4 separate regions of the Homo sapiens genome follow, and all the other regions are linked to region 1. The links are contacts of gene promoters, found by promoter capture Hi-C in human tissues and cell types (Jung and others, 2019). All regions are on one chromosome and are shown on one strand. Each heading gives the region's core, a stretch centred on a gene start or on the middle of the fragment in contact. The rest is flanking DNA. Distances are from core to core; before and after follow the strand shown.

Region 1 (2,803 bases), core at 163-2,662:
TCGGCTCACCGCAACCTCTGTCTCCACGGTTCAAATGATTCTTGTGCCTCAGCCTCCCGAGTAGCTGAAATTACAGGCATGCACCACCATGCCTGGATAATTTTTGTATTTTTAGTAGAGACAGGGTTTTGCAATGTTGGCCAGGCTGGTCTCGAACTCCTGACCTCAAGTGATCCGCCCACCTTAGCCCCCCAAAGTGTTGGGATTATAAGGTGTGAGCTACCGCGCCCAGCCTCCCCTTAATCTCATCACTCTGATCCAAAATAAAGCAACCAAATTCATAGGCTAGAAATACCAAGAAGGGCGGGGAGTTGGGTGTGGGTAAAGCTTGGTTGGGGCTAGGAAGTAGGGACACACTGGATAGGGAGGGTCTTGTATGACTTCAGGGAAGTGTTCGAGATAACTTCGTGTGGGGGGATGGAATTGGGAGGAGGGACTGCTGGAAGAAATGGTGTAGGTGGGGTGTATGAACTTCTTTCCCAGGAGGGAGCAAATTACATTACCCCTATGTCTAGCAAAAAAGCTGACGGAAAAAAGGAGGCTACTGAAAATTGGATGGAAGGCTGGGGTTCTGGGCACTTAATCACTCACCATGAGGGTCATCAGCTCCTGCTGTAGCCTGAAAAAAGAGTATTCGGGGTTACCTGGGAGTCTGGATGGGCCAGGCCTCCAGACGGTGCATCTTCTCCCACCTGAATCTCAGGGGGAGCCGTCATGGAGGCTCCCCACATCACCAAGGTCAGGCTCAGCTCAGGGTATACTCACCAGATCCACAGGACGATCCTAGCGAGTCCTCACCCTCCCTAATTCCAGACTCCCTCGGGATGATTCTGGCATGTTCTTAATTCCCCAGGCTTTAGCATCTCTTCCTTGCCCGACTCAACTTCTCCCTTCCCCTGTCTCGGCCAAGTCACGAGGGTCCTTGAGCGTCTTCATCTAGGCCCACCAGGGAAGGAGTCTGGCAGCGCCCCTACCCTCCCATTCTCCTTCGGGAGAGTCTCAAAGAGCGGTCTGAGCTCCTGGCCTGTCCCCCATCTCTCGAATCTCACCCGCGCAAGGAGGTGGGAGTCCCGGAAGTCTCCGCCCTCGACACCCATGCCCAGGGGAATGCCAGGCCCCGAGCTCCTGGTGTGTTCTCCTGCACCCGCAGATCTCCCGCTCCAGGAGGTGGCGGCGGGGGGTGGTCCTAGAAATCTTTGCTCTGGGTACCAATGCCTAGGGCATGGCAGGCCCGGCGAGTGGTAGGCCGCATCACTCACCTTTTGCCCACCGGACCCCGGGCGGCGCCCCCGCTCGGCTCAGCTCCTTTACGGGCGGCGGCGACGCTAGTGGCGGCTGGGTCGCGGTTTTGGGAAGCCATCCGGGCGGCGTTGGCAGAGAGACAGGAACTCGGAGAACACGACTGCAACTGCAGGACTGCGGGCCCGCCCGCCCGCGTTTGAATTGTAACCCTCTGGGGGCGTCGACCAATCAATGGCTCGCTTGGGTTTGATCCAGCCAATGAGACGCTCCGGAGCGCTCTATTGCTGCGCCACTGCTAGACCTACCCACTGGCGCACCGCTATTGGGCGGCAGAATCCCGCTTCTGACAACCGATTGGTAGATGATGCTGCCATTAACTAACGAATCCGTAGCGAATTGGTGGCCGTTGGAAAACGCTAACCATTAAAGGGCCAAGAAAACGTCCACGTGGGATGAACCCCTCCTTCTGGCTACACGTCTTACTCCGCGTGGGAACACTCGGCACGCCCAGCCTTGATCCAATTTCCCTCGGGCAGGGAGTGCCTCCAATCCTGCAGCACTGGTACCCTCCCACCATTATAATCGCCTGGGCACCTTTGCTGCGTCCTAAGTATCTGAAAATCCCAGCGAGGGGAAAAACTAAAGGCTGATGGCCAGAGCAGCAGGCTCCCTATTAGAAAACATAGGTCCATACATCTCCGCAGAGATGACAGAAATAAAAAAAGGCAACATTGGTTCAGGCTGGTCGCAGTGGCTCACGTCCGTAATCCCGAACACTTTGGAAGGCCCAGGCAGGAGGATCACTTGAACCCAGGAGTTCGAGACCAGCCTGAGCAACAGGATAGGGAGACCTGTCTCTACTTAAAAGAAAAAAAAAAAAAAAGAAAAGAAAAAAAAAAAAGGCTGGTGAGGTGGCACGAGCCTGTAGTCCCAGCTACTGGCGAGGCTGAGGCGGGAGAATCGCTTGAGCCAGAGGCTGCACTCTAGCCTGGGCAACAGAGCAAGACTGTCTTCAAACAAACAAAAACCCCAACAACACAGGTTCATATCCTGTATATCCTACCTCCCCAGTGGGTAGTGTGTAACCTTGGGGCGGGTCCTTTAGTATCTTAACCTGTAAAATGGGAGCAATAAAAGCCAACTCTATTTTTCATATGATCTGTCATCAAACTCCATCGCATTCTGCCATGTCCTTACATTAGCTGGGTAAGGAAACTACAAATGGGCAAAGGGAAGACGGGCAGGGTACATGGTGCTCCCAGGTTGGTCTTATCAAGCCTGGCTCTATACTGTTATGGGTGAGGGTTATCTCGTCCTTTTTTCCTACACCCACTTCTAGAGCCCTTGATGTTCTGTCAATTCCCACAAGGTAGAGGGCACAGCAGGTTCACCATCTGTGTTTACTACAAACTGTTTAATTGTTTCTTATCCCAATAACTTTACAAATATAGAACCACATGCTAGTCTGGGGGTGCTGTGCAGTGAGTCACTACAAACTCGCTCAGGCACAGCTTAATGCCGCTGAGATCCATCTAGGAGCAGTCCCAGCGGTGGCCTCAGC
Region 2 (2,803 bases), core at 105-2,604, 380 kb after region 1:
AGCCTCCCAAAGTGCTGGGATTACAGGCTGAGCCACTGTGCCTGGCCCCTCTTTTTACTTTTTAAAAAAGCTACTAGGAAATTGAAAATTCGATTTGTGGCTTGTATTATATTTCTGTTGCACAGCACCATAGTAGACTTTGGGGAGAGATTTCGCTTGTTTGTACTATTTAGTTTAGTTTGATCTTTTAAATAAGTATGGTTATTCATATAAAACAATACACTCATTATTCCTAAATTGAATAAATAAACCAATGGACAAAGAGCTATGCTTTCTCCCCTGGGATGTTGAGACAACTAGCTGGGAGGCTCTGGATGGGAACCAATAACAAAAGAATGGAGAACAGCTGTTCATTGTCCAGCCCACTCCCTTTACAGATAGGAAAACTGAGACCCCAAAGGTCACTTACCACTCTAAAATCTCATGGACTCAAGTGTGCAGTAGATGAGGCTGAAGACTGGCATTTCAGCTGAGGCAGGAATACTGACTTAGGGGACATTCTCAGTAGCTCCCAGGAGCCCCTCCAAGGTGTGTAGCACCACCTCCAGACAAGGAGTCCACTTCATCCCGGCTCATACCTCTTGCCCAGAGTGCTTCCTCTTCCAAGAAATCAAAAACAAGATATTTCCTTTGTCCTGTGGAAACAGGGACTCTTCTTTTTCTGCAGGTATAAGTTCCAGCCTCCCAGCCCTGGCTCATGGAGCTCAGCCCTTGGCACCATGGAGCTCAGCAGCTTCTGTGCCCTGCCTTGCCATCTGCCTGGTGGGCATGACCAGCTCAGAAAAGACCTCAAGTGAGCTGAAGTGCTATTGGGAAAGAGGACCCTGAGACCCATAGCCTATGGGACAGGGCTGGCTCCAACAGGCTACCCGGTCACTTTCACCTCAGCGGGAGTCCAAGGCCCAGATATTGAAAGGGCTCACCTGTGGTCACCCTTCAGTCTGGGGGAAGACCTGGGGCCAGACCTCCCAGATGCCTATTTGATTTAATTAAGTCTTCATCAAATTATTATTTTATTATTATTATTATTCAAGATGGAGTCTCACTCTGTCGCCCAGGCTGGAGTGCAGTGGCCTGATCTCGGCTCACTGCAACCTCCACTTCCTGGGTTCAAGTGATTCTCCTGCCTCAGCCTCCCGAGTAGCTGGGACTATAGGCACCCGCCACCACGCCTGGCTAATTTTTGTATTTTTAGTAGAAGCGGGGTTTCACCATGTTGGCTAGGCTGGTCTCGAACTCCTGACCTCAAATGATCCACCCACCTCGGCTTCCCAAAGTGCTGGGAGTGGTGTGAGCCACGACGCCCGGCCCAAATTTTTACTTTTATTATAAACTCAACATATACTTTTGTTTTAAAAAGACAAACAATACATAAATTGTTATAAAGTTAAAAGTGAGTTCTCTGTTTTACACAATCTTATTCTGAAAAGTATCCATTGTTAGAATGCTTAGGAGAGACAGTAAGTTTTCATACTACTTTAAAAATAAGACCAAGTTCTTAAGCTTGGCTACACATTGGTGTCACTTGGAGACTCTGTGAGTCCCACATTAAATTCTGATTTAACTGGTTTGGGTAAAGCCTGGGCATCAGGATTTTTTCAGTTCCCCAGGTGAATGTAGCGTGCTAGGATAGCAATTTGAAATAGGGTATGGCCAGGGAAAACCTCACTGATAATAGTGGAGGTGGTGAAAAGGGGTGGGATTCTGGATTTATTTTGAAGGTAGGGTGCAAACAGGATGAGAGAGAGACAAGGATGACTCAAAGGTATTTGGCCTGAGTGCCTGGAAAGACACGAATTACCTTTTACAGAGATGAGGTGACTATGGTTGGGCCTGTTTGGGGTGGGGTGGAGCACATCAGAAGCTCGGTTTTGGAGATATTCAATTTGAGATGTCTTTAGACATCCAAATGGAGAAAGCAAGTAGGCAGTTGGGTAAATGAATCCAAGATCCAGGGAGGAGGTCTGATCTAGAAATATGTGGGTGTTGCCAGAGCGTAGGTTACATGTGGCATGGTAGTGGAGGTCGTTTCTAGGTACTGACAGGGCTGCGGGTATAAAAGAGAGCCAGGCCACAGCTCTGTGCTCTTCTGACTTGGCAGACACCCCATGCTATGCATGCTCCATCCCACACTAGGCACACTACACAGACCACTTAGCTTTGTGTATCCACTCACCTGCGTTCCTGTCTCATTTACAGTCTGCTCCTTTACTGCTTTTGAAGTAAACTCAAGTAAAAGCACCTTGAACAAATTGCCTTTGCCCATGGTCTAGACTAGCTCACCGCCTTTCCTTCCTACATATGCACACATACCACCCGCATGTGCTGAGGGCTCCTAAAACCCTTCAAGGAACCTACACAGCCCATCTATGCTGGCTACAGAGACACCTGTACCACTGTGTTAAGACTGCTGCACTCACACATGTGGAGCTTCCAGAGTGCCCCTTGCCCATCCCTATCTTGGATCCCAGATCTCAAGCCAGAATAGCCCATACCCAGTTAATACATTTAGCGTTTGCTGATTGAGCACTTACATGTCCTGAGATGGGTCAGGTCTTAATGAAAGACAGAACCTGTGCCTCCAGGAAGCACACCATCTGGTGGAAGTCAAAGGACAGCAGCCAGCTGATAAGGAACACGTGTTAAGTCCAAGGCAATCTGGAAGCAAAGGCGTGGGGCACGGACACGTCAAGGGAAACTTCCCGGAGGCAGCAACTTCTCATCTGGGGTGTGTGTGTGTGTGTGTGTGTTTGAGACAGAGTCTCACTCTGTCACCAGGCTGGAGTACAGTGGCGCAATCTTG
Region 3 (2,803 bases), core at 187-2,686, 360 kb after region 1:
TGTCTCTCCAAAAAGTTTTTAAAAATTAGCCAGGCATGGTAGTATGTGCCAGTAGTTTCAGCTACTCAGGAGGCTGAGGTGGGAGGATGCTTGAGCCCAGAAGGTCGAGGCTGCAGTGAACTATGATCATGCTACTGCGCTCCAGCCTGAGTGATGGAACGAGACTCTTGACTCAAAAAAAAAAAAAAAAAAAAAAAAAGTCCATGATGTAAAGTAACTAAAAAAAAGAAAAGAAAAGAAAAGAAAGAAACCCCTTCTCCATGCTGCCCTCTCAAAAAACAAAAACTTCTTCGCCAGGCTTTCTCTAATGTCATACTTCATGCATTCCTGAGAAGTGGGCAGAGCAGATTTTGTCATCCCCACCTTACAGAGGAGAAAACAGTGGCTGAATTGGCATCCCAAGTTCAGGCAGCATAGCACAGGACCTGCAGGGACATTCCCAGCAAGTACTAGAAGAATTCGTGTGAAATGCTTCATAAATGCTTCTAAGGAGCATAACTGTAAAACAGATCCTTGTGGCAGTGTTTATTGGCTGCATTACATGATTACATGAGTGTTAAAAGGGATGCTTGAATTATCACACGTGGCGCCACCTTCTGTTGTAAACGAGAACCTGAGGGACAGGTGACACTCTCCAGGATCACGCGGTAAGGCAAGAGCAGAACTGCCCTTTTCCTATCATTGTGATTCTATATACAACCCCTGGGCCATGTCAGCCACTCCTGCTGTACCATTTTCCAACTGGGTGAAAAACCTCAGATCTCTATCCATTCCAGACCTCTCTCCATTGTTGGTGTGTTATGTTCTCTTCATGGCAGCTGGTGACCTTTTAAAAATTAAATCAGATCACGTTACTTTCGTGTTCCAAGCCCTTCTGTGGTTTCCACTGTACATGGAATTACAATCTAAATACCTTGTCATGGCTGTGATCAAGCCCCTGCCTATCTTTTTCTGCCATGCAGGAAGAGTTTGTTCCTGCCTTAGGACTTTTGCATTCATTCTTTCTTCTGCATCCACCAGAGGCCTACACGGCTCCTTCCTTCACTCCACTCAGAACCATCCTGCCTAAACTGGCCCCTCTTCACCTTGTATTCTGAGTTATTTTCTTTTTTTTTTTTATTATTATACTTTAAGTTCTAAGGTACGTGTGCACAACGTGCAGGCTCATTACGTAGCTATACATGTGCCCTGCTGGCCCACTACACCCATCAACCCGTCATTTACATTAGGTATTTTTCCCAGGGCTATCCCTCCCTCCCTGAGTTCTTTTCTTCATAGCAGTTATCACCACCTGAAACTTATCTCACTCAATTATTATTCTCTCCAGCTGAAATGTCAGCTCCAGGAGGGTGGGGAGCTTGTGTGCTGCCTTCACTCTTGTGACCCAGCACCTAGAACAGTGCCCAGCACATACAGTCGGCACTCAATCATAGCATGGCTATTGAGTCCTTCCTGAGTGCAGGCACTATTCCAAAGTCTATACGTGTATTAACCTCCCCTCCCTCAGTAACAACCAAAGAGGCAGGAGCTGTTATTACCAACCCCATTTTACAGATGCATCAATAATGACAGAGAAGTGAAGTGACTTGCGCACACAACCAGTAAATTGGCAGAGTCAGATTTGAATCCATGGAGTCTGGTCTGCACTTTCAATCACCGAATACCCTTTCTAAGAAACGTGTGCTGAACGAGTGCATGGATAAATCAGTGTCTACTCAACATCTTTGCCTAGATATCCCGCAGAGATGGGGTTTTGCTATGTTGGTCACGCTGGTCTGGAACTCCTGGCCTCAAGGGATCCACCCGCCTTGGCCTCCCAAAGTGCTGGGATTACAGGCATGAGCCACCGCATCAAGCTTTTTCCCCTATTTTACGGAGAAGGAAACTGGCTCAGAAAAGTGAAGTGACTTGCTTATGGTCACACAGTAATATCTACTAAACAGTCACATGGTAATAGCTACTAAAGCCGAACCCCTCTAATTAGTACCAAGCTCCTTGGCTCGCGCCTGTAATCCCAGCACTTTGGGAGGCCGAGGCAGGCGGATCACAAGGTCAGGAGATCGAGACCATCCTGGCTAACATGGTGAAACCCTGTCTCTACTAAAAATACAAAAAATTATCCGGGCGTGGTGGCGGGCGCCTATAGTCCCAGCTACTAGGGAGGCTGAGGCAGGAGAATGGCGTGAACCCGGGAGGCGGAGCTTGCAGTGAGCTGAGATCTGGCCACTGCATTCCAGCCTGGGCGACAGAGCGAGACTCCGTCTCAAAAAAAATAAAATAAAATAAAATAAAAAATAAATAAGTACCAAGCTCTTTTCCATTATAAACTTATTGATTATTATTACTAATGAATATTATTACTATTACTTTTATCATCCAAGCATTATTTATCGAGAAGTTATTCTGCCAGGTACTTGTACAAGGAATTTCACAAATATCATAGCATTTAATTATCACTATGATTCTGTGAGATCAACATGAGAAAAAAAGCAGAGGCTGACTCACGCCTGTAATCCCAGCACTTTGGGAGCCCAAAGCAGGCAGATCACCTGAACCTGAGGTCAGGAGGTCAAGATCAGCCTGGCCAACATGGTAAAACCCTGTCTCTACTAAAAATACAAAAATTAGCCAGGCTCAGTGGCATGCACCTATAATCCCAGCTACTCAGGAGACTAAGGCATGAGAATCGCTTGAACCCAGGAGGTGGAGGTGACAGTGAGTTGAGATCGCGCCATTGCACTCCAGCCTGGGTGACAGAGCAAGACCCTGTATTGAAAGAAAGAGAGAGAGAGAGAGAGAGAAA
Region 4 (2,803 bases), core at 77-2,576, 270 kb after region 1:
AGCATTCATGTTTCTCCACAGCTTTACCAGCATCTGTTGTTTCTGGACTTTTTAATAATCACCATTCTGACTGGCATGAGATGGTATCTCATTGTGGTTTTGATTTGCATTTCTCTGATGATCACTGGTGTTGAGCTTTTTTTCATATGTTTGTTGGCCGCATAAATGTCTTCTTTTGAGAAGTGTCTGTTCATGTCCTTTGCCCACTTTTCAATGGGGTTGTTTGTTTTTTTTCTTGTAAATTTGTTTAAGTTCCTTGTAGATTCTGGATATCAGACCACAAATTTTCTTAATCTGTCTCCAGTGATGGGAAAGCTAAGCTATTTGTCCACTGATTCCCAACGCCCACTGGATGCCAGGGATACTAAATCCCTCGCTCTTTCAAACTGTTATACTTGCAAGCTATACAAGCTCCCTGGGGGCCAGAGAAAACCCACAGCAGAAAATTAGGGACTGATGCTAGAGGTAGGAGGCTGTCAATGTGCATTGGCTATTATTCGGCCATAAAAAGGAATGAACTTCTCACTCACCACTGATGACATGCCTTGCTGCACACACACCCTGCTGCCACCCTGCAGAAATGCTTCCATTACCCACAGTCCTTTGCCAGATGGAACTGATGCCCAGGTAACTGGCTCCTCACCTCCTTCGGGCTTATACCAAGGATATAAAACTTGGTACAGATGCTCAAGCGTTAATGCTTCAGGGTGTGACTTTTAATCCAATGCTGTAGCTGTGACAACAGGGAAAAACGGAGAACAGAGTTGGAGAAGTCCCAAAGTAATGAAAGAAGTTATTTACTGTTGCAAAATCAAACGACTTAAAGGATAAATGTAACTGATCTTTACATACGAAAGAAGAGAGAGGGAAGTGAAGGGCGGGGAGAAAGAGACTCAGACAGACAGAGACTCCCTGAGAAAAAGACAGGCACAGAGTAAAAGACATACAGATGCACAGAAAAGAGAAGAAACAGAGTGAGAAAAATAAAACATAAGAATAGACATGTCAGGAGAAGAGTGAAATTAGAAAGAAGGAAGAGAGCTAGCATACTGTTAACCTGCAAACTCCCCCTGGGAAATGGAAGACTCTGGAGTTAAACCTCCCCTTCTGCTAAGGGAGCCTGGAAAGCCCAAGACAACATGTGCCCTCTTTCCCTGGTAGACCAGAAAGCCTCAGATTGCTGAGGATTAGGAGCCACCTATCCCCCAGTGTAGGTACCAGGTAGTCCCACTGATGGCCTCAGGGATCTGGTGTTCCTGATCGGGGAGTCTGGCTGGCTTGTCTCCAGGGCTGTCTCTTAAGGTGCTGGGCCACACCGGGGCAGGCAAAGTGCAGATGTAGGAGCTGCTGAGGAGCAGTTCTTAGTTTTGGTGCCATCAACCAGGCCAGTACTTCCTAAAATGGGACTCTCAGGACTTCTGCCAATCCTGGTACCATTCATCCTTTTGGGGGACATCCAGGAACCTGGGCACGCTGAAGGCATCCTTGGCAGTAAGTATTGGGAACTCCGTCCTTGCAATGGGGAAAGGAAACTCAGTGGGGAGGAAGGAACAAAGAATAATTTTGCAGCTGAGAAATTATTTTCTCCACCTCTGCCTGGAATTCCAGGTGGGAAAGAGGGGAGCTATTTGAAGTCTCTTGGTAAGAGACTCCCTTGGTGAATACAGGCATCCAAATCTGTGGCAAGTGACTCCTTGCTGCCATTCCAAAGAGTTCTTCCTGGAGGTGCCTGGACCTAGAGCTCATGAAATGAACTAAGAAGGAGTAGTAAGCCCAAGGAAGTCTCCCACAAGAAAAACAGGCTGCTCCCCACAACACCACCTGTGTCAACTTCCAAATGTTCTCATTGCAGCCCCCACACCCATACCCACAGAGGACCCTGGTCTTTGGGTTAAAGAATGGTCTCCAGAAGTCCCTTGGAATGCTGAAATGTGAAGACTCACAATTAGCAGCTAACTGTACTGGGCACTGAAAATTAGTGGTTGAAAGTGAGCACTCAGGAGCCACACATTGTAGGTTCAAACCTGGCTCCACCCCTGAGTAGCTGTGTGATCTTGGGCAAATTCACATAATCTCCTTATGCTTCCAATTCTTCTGTTTACAAAATGTGAATATTAAGAGTACTTACCCATAGATTTGTAATGAGGATTAAGGAGAAAAGGCAGCTCACAGTAAGTGCTTCATCCATATTACTCATTGTTACGTTACATTGCCCCAGGCAGTTTGACGATGGCTTGTCAAACTGTGTTGCTGGTTAGTCTTCAAAGCAACCCTATGGGCAAATGAGGAAATCAAGGCTCAGAGAGAGTGCCTGGCACACCAAGCGTCTCACAGAATTCAAAAGCCCAGCTATCTGATGCCAGAAATGTTAATCTCAATCATCGAGAGCCACAGCACCTCCTGGGGGAGCAACCAAGCACAGCAAGGCTGAGTGACCAGAACAGTCTTAGAGGAATGCGTCTTTCTCTCAGGAATCTCATAGATGGTGCGGGTAGGGGGTAGGGGTTGGTTTAGGCATCCGATGGTGAGTTGTTATGGGGTTGGGGATGTGAGCAGTGTTGTGAAATTCCTGAGCCCCCTGAGGGCCACTACCTTCTGGGGATAGGTGAAGTGGAAACAAAGTTCTCTAACTCTGGAGGGGTGCCCTGGTCTCGGGGAGGGGGAGCACTGGCTCCTTTAAGGCCTTGAGGGAATATATCTTCCCCTCCCTTAGAGCCGTGTCCCAAAATCAAAGTGGAATGCGAAGTGGAAGAAATAGACCAGTGTACCAAACCCAGAGATTGCCCAGAAAACATGAAGTGTT

What was found. Contacts are between HindIII fragments. The study calls those that stand out against the background at their distance.
Region 2: a contact is called between a fragment that was not itself captured here and the fragment with the promoter of UBE2C in region 1, in 1 of the 25 tissues and cell types used here (heart left ventricle).
Region 3: a fragment that was not itself captured here is called in contact with the fragment with the promoter of UBE2C in region 1 in 2 of the 25 tissues and cell types used here (mesendoderm cells and thymus).
Region 4: a contact is called between the fragment with the promoter of WFDC6 here and the fragment with the promoter of UBE2C in region 1, in 3 of the 25 tissues and cell types used here (H1 embryonic stem cells, adrenal gland and mesendoderm cells).

Annotation. Positions count from the first base shown.
Region 1 is chr20:45,811,253-45,814,055 of GRCh38, reverse strand. UBE2C (ubiquitin conjugating enzyme E2 C) reads right to left here and starts at 1,412. Exons shown (of 6, transcript NM_007019.4): 1 at 1,260-1,412; 2 at 592-619. The coding sequence starts at 1,360. DNTTIP1 (deoxynucleotidyltransferase terminal interacting protein 1) reads right to left here. Exons shown (of 13, transcript NM_052951.3): 13 at 2,638-2,803. RefSeq lists a silencer at 1,420-1,609. The HindIII fragment of the contact is 8,392 bases long and covers 1-2,803 here.
Region 2 is chr20:45,427,277-45,430,079 of GRCh38, reverse strand. It overlaps LOC105372631 (a long non-coding RNA gene), which reads right to left and starts at 2,658. Exons shown (of 4, transcript NR_159957.1): 1 at 2,535-2,658; 2 at 410-635. The HindIII fragment of the contact is 8,003 bases long and covers 1-2,803 here.
Region 3 is chr20:45,454,632-45,457,434 of GRCh38, reverse strand. No RefSeq gene overlaps it. Among named protein-coding and RNA genes, the nearest start is that of WFDC2, 14 kb to the left of the region's middle. The HindIII fragment of the contact is 4,216 bases long and covers 1-2,803 here.
Region 4 is chr20:45,538,005-45,540,807 of GRCh38, reverse strand. It overlaps WFDC6 (WAP four-disulfide core domain 6), which reads left to right and starts at 1,326. Exons shown (of 3, transcript NM_080827.2): 1 at 1,326-1,491; 2 at 2,714-2,803. The coding sequence starts at 1,401. It overlaps EPPIN-WFDC6 (EPPIN-WFDC6 readthrough), which reads left to right. Exons shown (of 5, transcript NM_001198986.2): 4 at 2,714-2,803. EPPIN (epididymal peptidase inhibitor) reads left to right here. Exons shown (of 4, transcript NM_020398.4): 4 at 1-182. It overlaps LOC107987282 (a long non-coding RNA gene), which reads right to left. Exons shown (of 4, transcript XR_001754641.3): 3 at 2,129-2,272; 4 at 421-733. It also overlaps the pseudogene HSPD1P21. The HindIII fragment of the contact is 28,992 bases long and covers 1-2,803 here.